Regions from separate parts of the Homo sapiens genome. Here all the other regions are linked to region 7. The links are contacts of gene promoters, found by promoter capture Hi-C in blood cells and fetal thymus (Javierre and others, 2016). All regions are on one chromosome and are shown on one strand. Each heading gives the region's core, a stretch centred on a gene start or on the middle of the fragment in contact. The rest is flanking DNA. Distances are from core to core; before and after follow the strand shown.

Region 1 (2,731 bases), core at 78-2,577, 3.6 Mb before region 7:
GTTATTCATGCATTTATTCATTTCTTCAACAGATACATACAGAATATCTAATGTGTGCCAGGAAATATACCTGAAGATATGCAGTGAACTAAATATATACCATGCTCACTCTTTTCTGAATATCATACTAAAGTAAATTATTAGTATGATCGACCTATCAGAAATATCATAATTTTGAGTCGGCATTATATATGACAGCCTTGGAATATATGATTTCTTTTCTTTTTCTTGGAAGGATTGAGTTGGTGATTTAGTATATGAATTTAAATTTTCCATCCTGGTCATAGTCAATGTATTCTCCAAAACATAGAGATTATCTTTAAGTTGGGAAATTTGCAATAAAAACATTATTCAGGTCCTAGAAAACAAAGTATAATTAATGAGTGTTCAAAAAAAGAATAAAAATGCTTAATCAAAATGGTTCCAATTATATTACATTTTATCTTGAAAAAAAAGATACTACAAAGCACATTCAGGGAAAATATTTAATACCCAAAGTGATATTTGATAGCACATTATGAAGAAAAAGTCTACATTGAAGAGAATGTATTCATTATTTATTTTATTATGAATGTTTCCTTCCTGCTCTCTTTCAGTTTGGAAGTATGCCAATTCAGATGAACATCAACTTACTCTAAGCAATAAAAGTAGATTATTAGATTGGGTTTTTCAGATAAAATTATACATGTTGCATGAAAGTTTGCTTTTTAAAGGAATTCTACCATAAAACTATATGAAGCAAATTATTTCATTATTATTTCTTGTGGGAATAAATACAATGAATGAAAAGTATATATTAAAATTATTTAAGCTAATTAAACATGTAAACTCAATTATCAGATTCTCCATCTTGGGGCTGATAATAATAGTTACAAATGATATGAACAGTTTCAACTGCTAATGGTGTTATAATCCTCCCAACTGGTGAGTTATCTTAGAGTGAAAGAGGACAACTTGTACTTATTTTCCAATAAAAATGGCAGAGAAATTACATGCATGTATATTTCTGATAAATATATATATAAATTATAAAATTACTCTCACACTGGCAATGCCTATTAATTAGATCTATTGGGAGTTTTGAAATGATAAAGTAACTTCTCTATTAATATACATTTGGGTTATTTTTATGTATTTTTAAGATATTGCTGCATATGGAAACTCATTATTTAAACATTGAGGAATTAGATAGACTATTTTACTAAAATTATCGTTTCCTGATTATGCTGAGAAATACAATAATTTTTCTGGCAGAGGTCAAATGGCCAAAAGCTGGATGGCTGATGTTCTGATGAACAGATCTTTGATGACATCTAGTGGTGAAATGTAGATTTATTTATTCACTGTTCTCAAAGTTTTAAGATGTCAATGTTGTATATATCTTGAGAGACATTGAGATAAGTTGGAGATTGAATAAAATGGAGAAATTTGGTAATTTTTGTCTTCAGCAAAGATACCTTAAAATGGTTAAGAACAAAGGGGTAGGCAGAAAAGAGATAAACAACCTTTAGTAAACATTTTTACATTTTAATTCTGAGAAATTTGTGTAGAGAATAAAATTTAAAACTGTAGCTTATAATATAAATATATTTCTTCGTGCAATTATGTTTAGCTGATGTGAATATGCTCCATTTATGTGTATAAGCACCACACTTGTTCTGATTAGGTGAATTTCAGTAATATATGGACTTTTAAGAAAATTTAAAAGAAAGCCAAAAGACAACCTGTGTATATATTTTCCATTTATGATAATCTATCATTATTTATATTTTTAAATGACTGAATAGACATGTCCTTATACTTAGTAGCAGCAAATTTTGTTGACCTAGGCTTATTTTATATGTGTTTTAAGCAAAATAACATCACAAGCAATGAATTCTAATTTTTGCTAGGTTTTCAGGAGCAAAATTATTTATACTTTTAACAAATCAACTCAGACCTTTAATCAGCATGTTTCAGCAGCACAAACATGCTGGAGACTGTCAAATTTTGTCTTCAGACATATATATACTAGCAGAAATTGGGGCAAATTATTTGATATCATTAAGCCTGAAACTTATTTTCAGAATGAATATATTGGATTAAACCCCAGTCTCTCTTTGAATCCAAACATTCTTTGATTTTTATATGATCATCTATATGCTTTATTTACTCTTTGGAACAAAGTTCTACCAAGGAGTAGGGGGAAAGTGTCACAATTATATTTCTAAGACTCTGTTTACAAATTACAAGTGAAATTGGAATTTTGTTAATTATCCAGTTAATTTAATTAGTGTTTAAATTCAGACTCAATTTGTCATAGCCTAATTTACCTACATTATTGTGTCTATATTGACTAAATTAAATGTTTAGCCTGCACTTTGCTATGTTGACTTAGCCTGTAAACTGACAGAGAAATAAGAGAGTACATAACAATGTAAACTAGTATAGTTTCTCAGGGGAAATATGTTTTCTTTACACTAGATAAGCTCCGTTGTGTTAATCACACTGCAAATGAGCAATAAAATATTTGACATACATGATCAAAATGTTATAGTCAGTTATTTTTATTAATTCAAAAAATATTTACTGAGTACCGATTATGTGCTCAGCAAAAAATTTTATATTGATAAAATTTGTTTTGTGGTATCTTTTCCCTAGCAGTCTCCAGCACGTTTGTGCCACTGAAACATGCTGACTAAAGATCTGAGTTGATTTGTTAAAAGTATAGATAATTTTGCTCCTGCAAACC
Region 2 (2,805 bases), core at 232-2,731, 3.5 Mb before region 7:
CAAAATTCTATCTTCCTAACCAAAATTCTAATATGTGTTAGTTTCATCATTATCCTCCTTATGCTTTAGACTTCTTTGCTCATCACACACTTCACCTTAGACTATTTCATATATGTTCTCACCACTTTACACAAGATAGGACACTGAAGCCGATGACTGGTTCTATCTGCCTTTGACTCCGAATTCGTGTCTCTCCAATCCATCCTGTTTATTCAGTAAAACTCATTGTCCTTAACAGACACGTTCACACTGTTACTGCTCTGTGAAGCCCATAAAGTTATCAGATCCCTGCCTCAGAAGTCAGACCACCTCAACAAGACGTGGATGTCACTTACTAGTCTTTTACTTGTAATGAGGCTATTTCCTCATCTGTTAAACAAGAATGATGACAATGTTTTGTCTGCCCTTTGCAAATAAATGATGTGGGAATACTTGAAAGAAATGTCAAGAGCCACATTTATAAATTATTATTACCATACTGTCTTTTGGTAGCACAACATTAAGTTTACACTCTTCTTGCTTTTACTCTATATGTTTTTTCTGTGTTTCCTAGTCAACATTTCTTCACTACTTCTGATAAGGAACCTTTTAGGAGAAGCTTCTCACTGACTCAAAACTTATAATAAAGGTCATCTCACTCTTTCATTTTTATTGGTTTTTCCCTTTGTCTGAGTTATTATTCTCTTTTATATACACCTGCCAAGATATATTGTTATGTTCAGTTCAACCTTTATTTCCTACATGGACATTTTCCTATAGCATTACTCTAATACATTTCTTCCTTTTTAAAACTATTATTGCTAGTCTGTTGCAATACTTACTATAACAGGTAATTACTCTTTTGTTGTTATTATTATTATTCCAGTTTTCACTTTAGCAACTACCACACTTTGGCGAGTATGGTAGGTGCTTAATAGTAGTTTTGATTGACTGATATAAGTAGCAAGTATTATATAATATAGAAAATATAAATCCCTCTTTCACATATTTTATACCTAATTTTTTTGTTTGAGAGATGATGCAAAAATTGCATTACATTAACAAAACAAAAATTATTACATTATGAGTCTGAAATTGCTAGATATAGACATACCAATCTTTGTATTCAAGTGAATCACAAGGACATATCAGCCTAAATAATAAATTAGAAGTCTGCAATGTGCTTGTGCCACTTGACAATGAGTCCCATCGACATAAACTGATACCATGGACAGATTTCTTATTAATCATGCTTCACCGGGTCATTGGGTTAAACATTTAAATAATAGGCTAATAGGAGTCTTGCTGGCAATTTAATTCCTGCTTTCTAGGCTCTGTAAGACAGAGTCACTCCTCTCTTTCCCTGGAGGAGGGGAAGTCCATCAAAATGTCATTATTCTACATGTGTAACAGAGTAATTTCTCTTGGTTTCTATATAGGTAAATTTGCAGTTGGCAATTGGCGATGAAGTGTCACTGATTGATCCTCACAGACTCATTCCTTTCCCCTCCTTACAACAAAGATCCTGTTTTTAATCACCTTACTGTGTACTTCCTTTGCCTTATCCATTATGCAAGGAGGTCAGCTAGTAACACTCAATATGACTAATTAAAGAAAGAACTCCAAGGTAAAGTGCACAGAGGCACTTTGGTAATTGCTGTGATATCCATAAATAATAATGACAACTAATGAGACCCATAATAGCTTTGTAAACAGTAATTTGCCCACTCACAGGAAGTGAATAACAATTTACACTGAGTGAGGAGAGTCAACTCTCATGGGTCATTTGAGCATTTCTTTTTCTGCTCTCTGTAGCCAACTGTTTTTGGCATTTCAGGAATTTCTGGAGGGGGTCGACTTATAACCTCGCTCTAAATGATAGCACAGTGTTTCAATGCATGGAATGAATAGCATGTTCTTTGCGTGGGCTACTTTATTTTTAAAATATTTAGTTAGGCTAATTTGAAATATCTCTGGAGATGGTAAGAAGAGTGGCCATATTCAAATACAAAAGAAATTCAGAAAGTTGTTAGAGGTTACCTAATAAGAAAACTGAGGCCAAGTAAGGTGAAGAAATTTGTGCAAGAACTTAAAACTTCTTTGTGCCAGAGTAGGGACAAGAAGATAGAATCTCTGGACCTGCGCCAGTTATCTTCACAGAGCCGATCTCTGAGGGCTTTGAAAATCATGAGCAGGGGTGTGGCTTGAATTGTATTGTGAAGCCCCCTTGGTGATGTCATGCTACTGTCTAGTAGCTAAACTGACTACAAATAGCACACTGCTAAAGTAGAAACATAAAATCATACAGGTGAAACAAATAGCCAGAAGTACATCAAAGCAGGTAGCATAACGAAAGACCTGAGGATCACTTTCCAAATTCAGGTGGAAGCTTCTCACTCTGACTTAATAGCGAGGAAACAGACAAATACACTTAGGTTCTGGGTAGTACTTTGTTGCCTGGAAAATTGCTTTTCCGTCGGGACAGTTATATCTCTTGAATATCATTCTCCTTTTTAAGGATAAAAACACAATTCCTGAATGTGGCCTTATCTTTTCCTATATGCTCAGAGTAGCCATCTTCCTCCTATTCAGGAATTTGTATCTGCTTAGCTTTTTGGTTTTTTTTTTTTTGGTCTGGGAAAGTTGATCTCATTCTTCTTTTGCTAGTTAATACCTGTTAATCATTCAAATCTTAGATCAAGTGGCATTTCCTAGGGAATATCTTCCGTGATTTTGACAGGTAAAATCCATCCCTTTATTATAGACTCTGACAACATCGGGAATTTTTGCAGCAGCTGTCACAGTTGTAGTTGAGTACTTGTTGTC
Region 3 (2,700 bases), core at 142-2,641, 4.9 Mb before region 7:
AAGGGAAAAGGAGCAGGTAGGGGAATACTCAATTATGTATTCGTTTGGCACTCAGTAAATTGGCGCTTTACATAGAGTAGCTACCCGTGGGGATTTTTAACCTTTTATTGTAGCTATCTGCTTAGAAACAAAAGGAAAGTCAGTGTCTTGCTTGACTCAGCTTTCAGCTTAATTTTTTCCTTGTGGCATAGTGCATTGGGGGTCCCAAGCTTTTATTTTCCTTTCACACTGAGGAGCTACTACTGCTACGAAGAAATCCACCAGTGCAGAAATCAGAAATCCAAGCTGCCACTGAAGGGCTCAGATTCATGTAGCAGCAAAGTATATGTTTCTTAGGAGATAGCCCATATATGGCTGCAAAAACACTCCATGTGTCTTCTGCCAGAGTCCATGCACCTCTCCCCAGCTGCTCCCAAAGGTATAATCATTTTTCTTCTCTTTCCTTTTCAAATCTTGGGCAAACAACTTTCATCGGCAAAATCAAATACATAACCCCACTGGAAAGGGATTCCAAAAAATGTATACCTGAGGCTCTTCCCCCAACATGCAGGGAAGAATGTAGAATAGGTCCAAAATAATGCTCAGCTGCTAACAATCAATCACAGTGGCTAAGCCAGAGAATAACAGTCTTCATCCATCCACAAATGCATGCAATTCAAGACCTACTATATTTTAAACATTGTGCTATAGTGCTCAGGGTAGACTGGGCCAAGATCATGGCCCAATGGGTCACTTTTGCTGAGTTTTCACTATTGCCAGTTACTATTCAATGCTCTTCTTTCATCTCCATCACAATCCTAGGAAACAGATCCAGGTGAGGAAACTGAGGGGAAAAGAAATTGAATAACATGCCCCAAATCATGCAGAGAGAAAACGACAAAGCTGGGATAAGAACTCAAGCAAATGGCACCAACAATAAACAACACTCCATCTTTGAAAAACACAGACCCTTCCCTTTGGATTTATAATCTTGCAGCAGAGACATATTGAACTGATCATTTAACAATTAATTAAAAATTACTTTTCTTCCGGAAAAAATTCTTCTTCTTCTGGAAAAATATATTTATAAAGGGAAACAGACCTTATTCAGTAACTTTGTCATTACTATTCTGAAAAATCTCTTTCTTGCTTCTCAAGCCCATTTTCTCTTCCTTATCTGCTTCACATTTGGCAGATGAACTTGACGCTGTTTTATAAGAAAGTAGATGTCAATGGGCATGAATTACTACAATGCTATATTAGGGTTCTCTGGAAAAACAGAACCAATAGTGTGTATGTGCCTGTGTGCATGCATGCCTGTGTGTGTGTGTGTGTGTGTGTGTGCACACATATATAAAGAGATTTATTGTAAGGAATTGTTCCACATGATGATGGAGGTTGAGAAGTCGCAAGATCTGCACTCAGCAGAGTGAGCAGAGCTGATATAGATTCAGTCTGAAGGCAGGCTTGAGATCCAAGAAGAGCCAGTGTTTCCGTTTGAGTCTGAAGGCAAGAAAACTAATAGCTGAAGGGCAGTCAAGCAGAAGTTTTGTCTTAGTTTCTTTTATTTTCTTTTTGTTGTTGTTCTATGTAGGTCTTTGATTGATTGGGTGAGGCCCACCTGTATTAGGGAGGGCAGTCTGCTTTACTCAGTTCACCCATTCAAATGTTAATCTCATTCTACAAACACACTCACAGACATACCCAGAATAGGGTTTAACCAAATATCTGGGCACCCCATGACCCAGTCAAGTTAACACGTAAATTAGCCATCACAAATGCCTTTTCTATTACTACCTCCAAAATTGTCTGTATTTACGTGAACCCTACTACTCATTGTTCTCACAAAGAATGCTCTCTTGTCTCCTGGATTTATGGCCTGTGTCCTTGCTATGGTCTAAATATTATGTTCAAAATTCGTATGTTAAAATCACCCTTGCAATGTGATGGTATTAGGAAGTGAGGCCTTTGGGAGGTGATTCATATGTTGAAATCCTCCACCCTCAACATGATAGTATTAAGAGGTGGGGCCTTTGGCAGGGCTTCACCTTCATGATTCGGATTAGCATCCTTATAAGAGAGACCCCAGAGAGCTAGCTAGTTACTTCTGCCATGCGAGGACACAGTGAAGGTGCCATCCATGAACTGGAAAATGGGCCCTCACCAGACACCAAATCTGCTGGCATCTTGACCTTGGATTTCACAGTCTCCATAACTGTGAGAAATAAATGTCTATGTTTACAAGCTGTCCAGTTTATGGTATTTTGTTACAGCATCCCAAACGGACAAAGACATTCTTGCTGTCCCCTCCCCATCTCCTGCGGCCTTGCTCTGTCATGGTGTGCTCACTGATGATGGCTTTCTCTCCCAGCCTGTGAGCACAGCTTATGAGAAAAATAGATTTATCCCTGAATCCTGTCTTTACACCTAACTAATGCTCTCTTTCTCTCTCTCTTTTCCTTTGCCTTTTTTTCTACATATGCTTTCCTAGTTTTTCATTACTCAATCTTCCTGCAGTGTGGCTTCAAAAAATGCTGAACAGTAAACATATTAGAAACTATGAGATATGGCTAAACAGAGGTCAGAAGAAAACTAAAAGCTTCAAACTAGGGTTCTAATTCCTGTGCTGAGAGTAGCCAGACAGGAAAATAATATGTGAATTGTCTGAACATAGAAAATCAGGAGAGGGGCTGGCCTATGGCAAACTTAAGAGAACATGCC
Region 4 (2,700 bases), core at 181-2,680, 4.7 Mb before region 7:
TATACTTATTAAGTACAAACAACATGCAAAGAGGTATTAAAAGACAATATATACAACACAGTTACTTCTCTGAACAAAAAAGAAAATGAGGAAAAAAACTTTGCACTTAATCTTTTTTCTTTTCTATTACCATTCTTCTTTTTCTGTTTGTTTTGGGGGAAGATTGGATAGACAATGAGAAGGGATTCCAAGAAAAGACCTGTATGTTGCAATTTAAGCTTCAAATGGACCCTGGGTAATCCATCTGTACCTCAAACTCGACTTGAAATAAATATTTGGTTGGTAGTTGTGAGGTACAGAGAATTACTGAGCAATAATGGTGGTTCCACTGCCTAAAGCTTGAAGATTTCCTCAAGGAGTGATATGCACTCTGTGAATTCCAAGGTAGAGATGGACACAATTGTTTTAAAGAGTTTGCCAGCACTTCTGTCCCCTCCACTCTCACCATCCTTCTCCAACTTCTCTAGAGTTGACAGGCAATGAGACTCCAGTGAGAAATCGATGCTAATGTCCAGATTACATCCAATGTTCTTAGTGTGCACTTTCAGATCCTTTATCATCCGGCTACACTTCATTCATTCAACATGATTTCATTCTCCTTCTGAGCCCTTGACCTGACTAATCTCTTTAAGGTCTTTTAAAAATGGCCTTCTCAGTGTCACCCTTGATACTACTTTTTCTGTTCCTTGAATCCTCAATATTTTTTCTCTACCTCTTTTCTAACAGAGAGTGGCTCTAAGTTATTTCCATCTTAGAGCTCTCCTTAGTTACCTACAGTTCTCGGTGGTCCCTTCTCACCCTGAATTTCAATGACTCTTTTATATACAATCTGTACTCTTCTGTCTAAATCAGTAAACTTTAATAATGTATGATTTCAATAACTTAGAATACATGGCCAGAAGTACGAAATGTTAACAATACCTCTCCTAAGCTTCCCTAAGATAGGGAAGTAAGTTACTATGTGAGGAAGAAATGAAAAGATCATTTAAAATATAAATTATTACAAACCTCTTCTGGAGACTAAAATTCTAAGAGAATACCAGCATGCTCATTCTTATTTAGTTACAACCATCATTTGAGCAGTCAATGGGGTCCTTACCCCAAGAATATTGAAGCATATATCTAAATGCATGGACGTTAGGAAAGAATGTACGGTACAATGTGACCTCATAAATACAGACATATGGGGGGTAAAATAGAGAAGACCTTCTCTGTGGGAAATTAAACTTGCAAGAATCTAGGATTATCATACTACATGCCATCAATAGAAAAAGTAATGAGAGCTTGCCTTTTTTAGGGATAGCATATGTTTCTTACTTTGAAAAACCAATAAGAAAATCAAAATAGATAACACAAAGAGAAAAGAGAATTACTGACTGTTGGAAATGTATCCATTGTAACACATTGGCATAAAAAGAACCTTAATATCATAAAAAAGAGACATAACAGCAACAAAGCAAAATAATTCTTCCATGAACCAAGATCTTGGTAGTTATCTTTTTTTTTTCTAGCAGCAACAAAATGCTAGAAATGTATTGCAAATAACATGTCCAGTTCCATAAGAGAAACAGAATATATTTGAATATTTCTTTTTGGTAAATTTTCTAGCCATCTTATCAAGTATAGTGACAGGGTGTTTACTTCTACCAGTTTTGGCTAGTATTCCAACAGACCAGACTAGAAAATGAAAAGTAAATATGGGAAAAAACAAACAAGTTGGGACTTGAAAAATGATAATTAAAAAAAAAACAATAAACAGCTTCCATAATGCTTTGTATTATCTATTATGTTGTTTCGTATACATACTATGTTTTTTCTTATTTGTAATGGACCTCGTATATTTATTAAAATAAAATTATGTAAAAGCCTGAAGCTCTGGTATTCCACATAATGAAGAAAGAGTCCTGCTCTTTATCAAAATTAAAATAACAAAGCTTTTCCTCCATAAACACTGATATTACATTTTGAAAGATAAAATTAATCAGTAAAAATATATGGGACTATAATGGCAGATCATAATGAATAAACATCAAAACAGGTCATTCATTATTAAAACATGCCTTTACTCCTAATACTTAAAATATATCTGGCAGCTCATCTGAAAGAAACGTAGAACACCACATCTCCTTTTTTCTCAGATTACCATGAAGATTCGCTTGAACTTGAGAAAAGAAAAAGAAAGAGAAAAAAGAAGTATATTCTCCCAAGTTTAGACACTCTGTTTTTCTGTACTTCTGAAATACTGAATTGCCTTAGAACTTAAGATGTTGCTTCTTTTAAAAGTTATTACTCTAACAGGTACCTTAACAATAACTTAATTGCTGATAGCACCATGCTGATGAAGTGGAAATTTTATTGCTGAGCTGTCACTGCTTCTTTGGGACCAGCTTGTTTTTAGAAATCAGTAACAATTTGAAAATCTATGTACTTTTATTTGGATGCTATTGCTTTTACTGACCTGATATTCAGTCCTCTACTCACTGATTCACTAAACAACTCTCACTGAATATGCAAAGAATTATGTCATTGTTTCACACCAAGACAATTTTGAAAACTTATTGAACATCCTTTATAGCTCAATCAAGTTTCTATGGACTATTTCACTCAATCTTATAACAGTCCTGTGAAGAAGTGTTTATTATCCCATTTACAAAGAGGATAGTGACCTCACAGATTTAAAGTGACTTGCTCAATATCATA
Region 5 (2,700 bases), core at 39-2,538, 3.9 Mb before region 7:
GGCTGGTCTTGAACTCCTGACCTCGTGATCCACCCGCCTCGGCCTCCCAAAGTGCTGGGATTACTGGCGTGAGCCACCACACATGGCCTCTATTCTTTATAAATTACCCAGCTTCAAGTGTTCTGTTATATAGCAACATAAAATGGATTAAGACACCAGTGTAACTTTGACAGCCTTATTAGGCATTATTCCAGAAGAAATAACCCACATGGGTTCTTATTAATCTACTCATTGGTCAATGGGAAAGTATTTTCTATTTGTATGTCTTCACTTATTAGTGAAAGGCAACCTACACATTCAGAACTTTAACACTTTTTTGGGAGAAAGTATCCCCTAAAGAGATTATCTAGTTTTTTAAATCCTTTTTTTAAAATCATTTTCAAAGAAATGTCTCTTTGTGGTTTTAATGGAGGTTCAGTTTAAAATGTGGTAGTCAAAAGAAACCAATTTAGCTGCTTTCTTTGACCAGTGACAACAGTCTAATCATCGCTTGCTTAATTGGCTCTGCAATTTCCTAATTAGCATAGGATTGGCCAGAGCCTGATGTGATAGCTTACCCTTTGGCTCTTAAATTCTAGCTTTTTCTTTATTAATCAAAAGGAAAATCATCATGCATGTTAAAATCATTAAAGAAGAACTCCTTTTATCAAACCTTTAGGCTTCTGAAGTTAGGAGACATCTCTTCTTGTAAATTACGTTCTAGACTTGTTAATTTTTAAGTGAGTGAACTAATCTTTGGTGGAAAATAGGTGAGGGATTAATTAATAGAAGGTGGTAAATGTTAAAGGAATATGGTTCAGAATGAAGTTAGGTACCATGCATTCCTGCTGAGTTAACCTAAAACATAAAGTCATCTTTTATTTTCCCAAGGAAAAGATCCAGAAAGAAGTTTTTTTCACTAACTTTACCATATTAACATCTAATTTTGTATATATAATTGTAAATACTATTTAAAAGGTAAACTGAAACACAATACTATTTTAAAAAATTTATTGCAGCTAACAATGATTCATTAACCGGGCGGCTCCAAACCAGAAGTGATCTGAGAGCTCCACCAAGTGAAATGCAACAGGGAAGCTTTTACAATCCTATCATTGAGGTAAAAGAAAATAAGACATTTGACTGATTACAGTTGTACAGTTGCTTTATTTGGTTTCTTTTCTTAGAAAGTTGCTAATTATAATATGTTAATTGGCTGCTTCTGATTGATTGAGATTGAGTTCTGTTTTTCGTTAATACAGGCATTTACAAGAAACACCTCAGGTTGTTTCACTTATGTTTGCAAATCGAGCAAGGTTGAGGTAACTTATGAGCTCTAATTGGGTTTGTCAGCTCAGGGATTTTTTTCAGGCATGGTCTCCATCTTAATTAACTTCAACAATATCAACTTTTAATATTTACTTCATCAAATAAATTAACATATTTATAATCACAAATTATTATGTAATTACTTTACTACTATAAAAATATACTTTTTCACATTCCTTGAACTATTTTATTTAAGCTTTTGATATGTATTTCCTAAAGTAGTCTTCATCATTAACAGAGCTGCCTGTTGAATCTAATGGCTTTGTCCAGAGCACATTATTTTCTTACTGGTCCACACTTTTTTGAGATAAAGCACTTTCTGGGTCTGTATACAATGTTTTCACTGGAAAATTTATCCTGAGTGTATACATTCACAAAACATTAGCCCATTTGTTTTTATATTTTCCTATGAATATACATCCACTATCTCCTCAACACGACCATTTGCTGCATTGCTTTTTAAATAAATTTTAAACTTGTTTATAACCCAGCACTTGCAATTGTGAAGTCATGTTCATGATAGGAATAAATAAATCTGTATTATAGTTTTAGGGTTTTTTTTCTTTCTCATCAATTCAGTCGATCTCAGTCAATCACTCACTTGATACTAGTATTGACAGATTTTTAGGCTAATGTGTCTTCACTGAACAACAACAATTTGGTTTGGTTAGTCAAAATTAAATAAACTGAGAGAGGATCAGCAATAAGTAAGATTTTGTAAGGATTTGGATATAAAGTAACTATCCCCCTCTTATCTGAGAACAACAACAAACAAATAAACAAAAAACAACTTTGCCTTATTCAAACATGCCGAGCAATCTTAGACTTCAGTTCACAGAAATTTTAGCATTGTTTTGAAGTAGTTTGTACTAATTTTAATCACTTCTGAATTCTATATTCAATTTTTCTTATATCAAAAACTGATTATGATTAACAAGAACTATTATAACATGGAACCCAGGAAATTATCTGAAGATGTTCATATATTATATAAAAAGTGATATATAGATATAGATTTATCTATCTCTCTAGAAAGATAGATGGATAGATAGATAGATAGATAGATAGATAGATAGATAGATAGATCGATAGATAGATAGATACATGGATACCTGGAGATATATATATATACCCACACACACACTCTGTTTTACTACAACAAGGTCCCTGTACAATAGACCCCTCTTCTTTTGCAATAAGGTATTTTTTGGTCAGGAGAAATAAATTTACAGTTATGGTATCTGAAAGCAAAATTAATTCAAAAAGGAGCATTTAATCTTAGGAATTTTCCATTGCCACTGATTCCTAATCCAGAAACTTCTAAATTTGACCATACTTTAAACTATTGTGTTTCCCTGTATATTAACTGGCTTTTGCCATGACAACAAACAA
Region 6 (2,700 bases), core at 172-2,671, 3.2 Mb before region 7:
TAACGGAAAGCCTTTTAATTGTGTACTTGGTAAGCTGTTCTCATTGGCTTTATGAAAACCGATTATACTAACACTGTATTCCACACAGTATTTTTCTAAAAGCTCTCGATTCCATGAGTCCATGCTGACATACTTCAGAATATTTTCATAAATAACTAAAGTATATTTCCCTTTGCCATTATCTGTAAGAGGAGGTATATCTCCCTTTCCAGGGGCAATAACCATGTGGTACTGAAATCGGCTGGACTCCAAAATAGCTATGATATCTTGACCGAGTTGAGAGTATTGGCTCTCCACGAAGAGAAGGACAGTAGGGTCCGTTTTGGATGTGTCAATAGGTTTAACTGTTTTCAGCTCCATTGACCTATATGGTAGAATTTTGATGTCAGTGCATTCTGCTTCTGCAGTGGTTTCAATAAGTGTCATTTCCTGTTTGTAGCCAGAGTAGAGAAAATAGGCAGAAATGACAATGCTCACCAAGCAAAAGGTAGCTAAGAGAACAATCAATGTTCGAAAACTTCTCCGAAGTTTCACAATAAGATTCATTTTTTAGAATAATGTTTTGGAAGCTTTTTCCCAATTTCGTTTCCTAAAGTGCCATAGTGAATAAAGTATGAGATGTTGCAAATATCACTTCCCCAGAGTTCATGTAACCATCGCAAATCATGTAAAATGTTTGAAGGGAGCACAACTGAGTTAAAGCTGGAAGGCAATAGATGGGAAGGATATACGTTGAGGAGATTTTGAATATGTCCAATACTGAGAATTGCTGCAGAATCCTCTAAGCATAATCTGAAAGAGAGGAGAGATGTAATAACTAAGATAAAAATAGAAATATAAATATTTATTTCTATATAAATGCTGATGCTCAAGAAACATATATAGCAATGATAATTTTAGTGTTAATATGCTAAAATATTAACAACCTGATGTTTACAGTCTAGACTTAACTACCTAGAGTATAGTAGATTTTTTGATAACCTCCAGAACACAGAACCCAATTTTATTTTGGCCTAAACATCCATATGTATATAGAAACATGTATTGAGATCATTTTCTAACTAATCCCACCAAAAAAGAAAAGAAGTAAGAAAGTAAGCTTTAACAAAGTATGTCAGTTACCATAAAACTATTCTACAGAACTGATAACCATTATATACATATAAAATTAGGAAATCAGGAATCAGGGGCTTAGAGCAATTAAACATGCTCTTAGGTATCTGCCTGAGTCTCTGGAATTCCCAGCTGACTAAATAAATCTGTCTTAAGTTTAGAGTAGTTACAAGTTTTTCTCTTGAATAATATATCCTTTATCTGGACTCACAGGGAGCCACTTGGCCCTCTTCAGCATTACAGCCCAGATACATAGGACTGCTCCTTCTTCTTGCAGGAACAGGCATTCTCAGATCTCGCTAATGAAACAGAGGACAGAACGCTTAGGTGAAAAGAACAATGACATGTTAGTCTCAAAGCATATTTCCTAATTTTGCCTACTCTTGTAATAAGAATTAAAACTCTTACTCATTGTCAATTTTTATCCAAGAATCAGATGTTCTATTTCTCTATCACTTCCTTTAGTTCAAAAAAAATGAATGTAGAATGCATTTGTATTATTTTGTTCTTGTATTGCTCTAAAAAAACACCTGAGACTGGAAAATTTATAAAGAAAAAAAGGATTAATTGGCTCACGGTTCTGCAGGCTGTACAGGAAGCATAGCAGCTTCTGCTTCTGGGGAGATATAAGGAAGCTTCCAATCATGGTAGAAGGCAAGGGGGTGCCAGGTATCTCACATGGTGGAAGCAGGAGCAAAAGAGAGAGTGTGTGTTTAGAAGACAGGAAGATGAGGATATGTTTGGAACTTCCTAGAGACTGGTTTTAAATGGTAGTGACCAAAATGCTGATAGTGATATGGACAGTGAAATACAAGCTAAGGAGGTCTCAGATGGAAATGAGGAACTTATTGGGGACTGGAGAAAAGGTCATTTTTTGTTATGCCTTAGCGAACAACTATGCTACATTGTGCCCCTGCCCTGTGGATCTGTGGAACTTGAACTTAAATGTGATGATTTAGGGTATCTGGTGGAAGAAATTTCTAAGCAGCAAAGCATTCAAGAAGTGGTGGGTGGATCACGAGGTCAGGAGTTCAAGATCAGCCTGGTAGGGATAGTGAAACCCTGTCTCTACTAAAAATACAAAAAAAATTAGCAGGCATGGTGGTGGGTGCCTGTAATCCCAACTACTCAGGAGGCTGAGACAGAGAATTGCTTGAACCCGGGAGGCGGAAGATGCAGTGAGCTGAGATTGTGCCACTGCACTCCAGCCTGGGCAATAGAGCAAAACTCTCTTCCGCCCCCACCAACCCCCGCCCAAAAAAAGTGACCTGGATGCTTCTAACAACCTATACTGGGATACATAAGCAAAGAAATGACCTAAAGTCAGAACTGATATTTAAAGGAGAAGCAGAACTGTGAGGCAATTAAAGCTCTTCTTCATAAATTACCCAGTTGCAGCTATATAGTCATTTGAGAATGAACTAACACAGCATTAAAAAAAAAATTTCCCATTATACACTACATTACTACAGGCACGGTGGCTCAGGCCTGTAATCCCAGCACTTTGGGAGGACAAGGTGGGCAGATCACAAGGTCATGAGATCGATACCATCCTGGCCAACATGGTGAAACCCCGTCTCTACTAAA
Region 7 (2,700 bases), core at 36-2,535:
GCTTGAGCCTAGGAGGTGGAGGTTGCACTGAGCCAAGATCATGCCACTGCACTCCAGGCTAGGCAACAGAGCAAGAATGTTTCTAAATAAATAAATACATAAAATAAAATCCTTAAGCCAATCTTCATTTACCAACCAATTTTTAATTCTTTTATTTGTTACCACATTGTCTCTCCTGAATATCCAAAGGCTCAAAGCCTTGGTTTGAATGCAGCTAAATTCATTGGGTTTGATCTCAAGTCAAACTTAGAAATACTGTCATCTCAGCCACAAATTTCACACTAAAGTAGATAGAAACCACTACTAAATCACTACTTTGTCTTAAAATGAAAGTATAATAGACTGTAAGGTTATAATTGCTTTTTTAAGTTAAACTTTGTTTTACATTTACAGAAAATTTGCAAAAATGGAGTCCCCACACCCCCTTCATCCAATTTCCCCTACCATTAATATCTTACAATACCATGGTATATCTGTCACAATAAAGAAATCGGTATTGGCACTATTACCTAAATTCCACACTTTGTTCAGATTCGCTAGTTTTCCATTAATGTCCTTTTTCTGCTGGAGATCCCAGCCAGGATACCACATTACATTTAATCATTATGCATCATTTTCTCTGGCATAATAGTTTCTCAGACTTTTCTTGTTTTTGAGTAGTGATTAGGTAATTTGTAAAATGCTAACCAGCGATCTCAGCTCACCATAACTTCCGCCTCTCGGGCTCAAGAGATTCTCCCACCTCAACCTCCCGAGTAGCCGGGACTACAGGCGTTCACCACCACACCAGGCTAATTTTTGTATTTTTAGTAGAAACGGGGTTTCGCCATGTTAGCCAGGCTGGTCTCCAACTCCTAACCTCAAGTGATCCGCCCGCCTCGGCCTCCCAAAGTGCTGGGATCACAGACGTGAGCCACCGCGTTCGGCCCCTTTTTCTAATATTGTCTAAAATAAGTATCCTAAACAGGAAATACCAAAAAAATCCCCCTCGCTTTCGTGACCTACACCGGTAAGCGTCAGGATCTTTCGCTATGCGAGAACCTTTTGGCTCTCGTATGTGCGCATGCGTCTGGATCCGGAGCCAGGTGACCCGCTCAGACGTGGACCATGTGCGGGGGAGGGGGGAAAGGAGCCGCGAAGGGGGTGGTAGACGGAACAGGTGGAGCCGCGGCGGGGCTAGGCGGGGCGGGGAGTGAAACAGCATAGGCTCCGCCCCTCGCGGCGCTTCCCCCGGAATAGCGTCATCAGTTCTATAAGAGAGCGTGTGCCGAAGGCCTCGGCCTTTCACATTCGGGAAGCGTCGGGATTAGGTGAAAGTACGTAGTTGTCTTTCGTAAGTTAAAATGATAATTGGGCCGAAACTTACTGCCTTACCTAAAAGGCAGCGCAGTCAGGATATTGGTAGGTCGGGGGCGGCTTTGGAAACCCTTAAGTTTACAAGCATGCGCGGACTTGAGTGCTCATTAGGTCGCCGGGCGTCCACGTGCAGCCCTGGACCCTGAACCCCGGCGTGCGTGGGCCGTGGGCCCTCGGGGAAAGGTTCCGTGCACTCGGGGACTCCGGTGAAGCCTGTTCAGCCGTCTGTGTCATGTGGCCATCTTGAGTCTACTCTGTCGCTCTTGTGCCCTAGCACCCCGAGAACCGTCAGTTTGAGCCAGATGGTGAGTAATAACCTGTAGCAGTTTGGTTGCTGGTTAATTCTGGATTGTGAATCTCCATGTATCTTTGGGACCTGTCAGCCGTGGCAGTCTCCCTTCCTAGCCATGGAAGAGCATATCCTTGTTTATTGGCAAAGCTGTCACCATTTAATTGGTATCAGATTCTGACTTGCACAAGTAACATTCACTGTTAAAAACCTAGAGGGTGCCGGGTTATTGGGCAAAATTTCTAAACCGTTGTTCAATGTTTCTAGGAAGCTGAGCTGAACACATTACGATGGATGATGGAAACATAAGGTACATTTCTTTTTTGATATTTCTGAGTTAATCTGAAACGCCTTAGCGGCAGGACGTTGGAAAGCTAAAGTTGGCCCGTTTTGCTGGCTTTTGTAGTTTGAGTTAACAACCAACTGAATTAGCTGATAAGATCTCAAAACAGTGAGGTAAGTACACAGCTCGGAGTTTTATAATGCTTTTTTTCTCTTGCAGACTATCAAGAAATCCAAGTGGTAATGGGCGAAGTTTATTCAGCATCCGGCAATGGACTTATCGTAGTTGGGGAAACGGGTGTTCCGAATAATATCCTGGAAGTTATCAGGACACCTATTTTAAATATAGGCCTGAATTTTGTAAAGTAATATTTAAGGTGGTCCGTGATAATTAAATAAAATGCTTAATTCATGTGGCTACTCATTGTTCCTTGACTGAGTGATTAATAGACGGAAAGGTAGTTAATAGCATAATACCTCCTATTTAGTGTTACACGCTCATGTGGAAGTAGTGTGAGTACAGTTCTAAGGTAATTGCAGCCTTTGTGAAAAATGTAAAATATAAAAATTACCAGGCTACCCCCAAGGGAGACAGCAGACTCTTTTTAAACCATACAAAAATTTAAGGCAGTTATACAAGGTGGAAAATTATGTATTTATTTACACAAATATGCACAGAACACTTGTATCTTTCAAAAGTCACACTTAAGACATAGTAAAAGCATGTTGTATGAACCATGTATTCTTAAGGATTGAGCAAACTGCAGGCTGCT

What was found. The method cuts DNA at HindIII sites, captures the fragments that hold promoters and counts their contacts. A CHiCAGO score of 5 or more calls a contact.
Region 1: a contact is called between a fragment that was not itself captured here and the fragment with the promoter of SNHG8 in region 7, in 1 of 17 cell types (naive B cells). The highest score is 6.5, in naive B cells.
Region 2: a fragment that was not itself captured here is called in contact with the fragment with the promoter of SNHG8 in region 7 in 1 of 17 cell types (endothelial precursors); the score reaches 9.0 in endothelial precursors.
Region 3: a fragment that was not itself captured here is called in contact with the fragment with the promoter of SNHG8 in region 7 in 1 of 17 cell types (neutrophils); the score reaches 6.1 in neutrophils.
Region 4: a fragment that was not itself captured here is called in contact with the fragment with the promoter of SNHG8 in region 7 in 1 of 17 cell types (non-activated CD4 T cells); the score reaches 6.8 in non-activated CD4 T cells.
Region 5: a contact is called between a fragment that was not itself captured here and the fragment with the promoter of SNHG8 in region 7, in 1 of 17 cell types (naive CD8 T cells). The highest score is 6.4, in naive CD8 T cells.
Region 6: a contact is called between a fragment that was not itself captured here and the fragment with the promoter of SNHG8 in region 7, in 1 of 17 cell types (naive CD8 T cells). The highest score is 5.9, in naive CD8 T cells.

Annotation. Positions count from the first base shown.
Region 1 is chr4:114,693,673-114,696,403 of GRCh38, forward strand. No RefSeq gene overlaps it. Among named protein-coding and RNA genes, the nearest start is that of MIR577, 38 kb to the left of the region's middle. The HindIII fragment of the contact is 4,720 bases long and covers 1-2,731 here.
Region 2 is chr4:114,781,265-114,784,069 of GRCh38, forward strand. No RefSeq gene overlaps it. Among named protein-coding and RNA genes, the nearest start is that of MIR577, 130 kb to the left of the region's middle. The HindIII fragment of the contact is 1,770 bases long and covers 597-2,366 here.
Region 3 is chr4:113,387,654-113,390,353 of GRCh38, forward strand. It overlaps LOC105377374 (a long non-coding RNA gene), which reads right to left. Exons shown (of 5, transcript NR_199847.1): 5 at 1-797. Among named protein-coding and RNA genes, the nearest start is that of MIR8082, 240 kb to the left of the region's middle. The HindIII fragment of the contact is 2,369 bases long and covers 208-2,576 here.
Region 4 is chr4:113,532,165-113,534,864 of GRCh38, forward strand. All of the region lies in intron 7 of CAMK2D (calcium/calmodulin dependent protein kinase II delta), which reads right to left. Among named protein-coding and RNA genes, the nearest start is that of CAMK2D, 230 kb to the right of the region's middle. The HindIII fragment of the contact is 1,003 bases long and covers 930-1,932 here.
Region 5 is chr4:114,377,449-114,380,148 of GRCh38, forward strand. No RefSeq gene overlaps it. Among named protein-coding and RNA genes, the nearest start is that of UGT8, 220 kb to the right of the region's middle. The HindIII fragment of the contact is 427 bases long and covers 1,076-1,502 here.
Region 6 is chr4:115,076,491-115,079,190 of GRCh38, forward strand. NDST4 (N-deacetylase and N-sulfotransferase 4) reads right to left here. Exons shown (of 14, transcript NM_022569.3): 2 at 1-792. The coding sequence starts at 546. Among named protein-coding and RNA genes, the nearest start is that of NDST4, 36 kb to the right of the region's middle. The HindIII fragment of the contact is 649 bases long and covers 1,098-1,746 here.
Region 7 is chr4:118,277,477-118,280,176 of GRCh38, forward strand. SNHG8 (small nucleolar RNA host gene 8) reads left to right here and starts at 1,286. Exons shown (of 3, transcript NR_034011.1): 1 at 1,286-1,316; 2 at 1,913-1,955; 3 at 2,148-2,347. It overlaps SNORA24 (small nucleolar RNA, H/ACA box 24), which reads left to right and starts at 1,714; the gene lies at 1,714-1,844. It overlaps PRSS12 (serine protease 12), which reads right to left. Exons shown (of 13, transcript NM_003619.4): 13 at 2,562-2,700. RefSeq lists an enhancer at 814-993 and a silencer at 1,064-1,113. The HindIII fragment of the contact is 13,799 bases long and covers 1-2,700 here.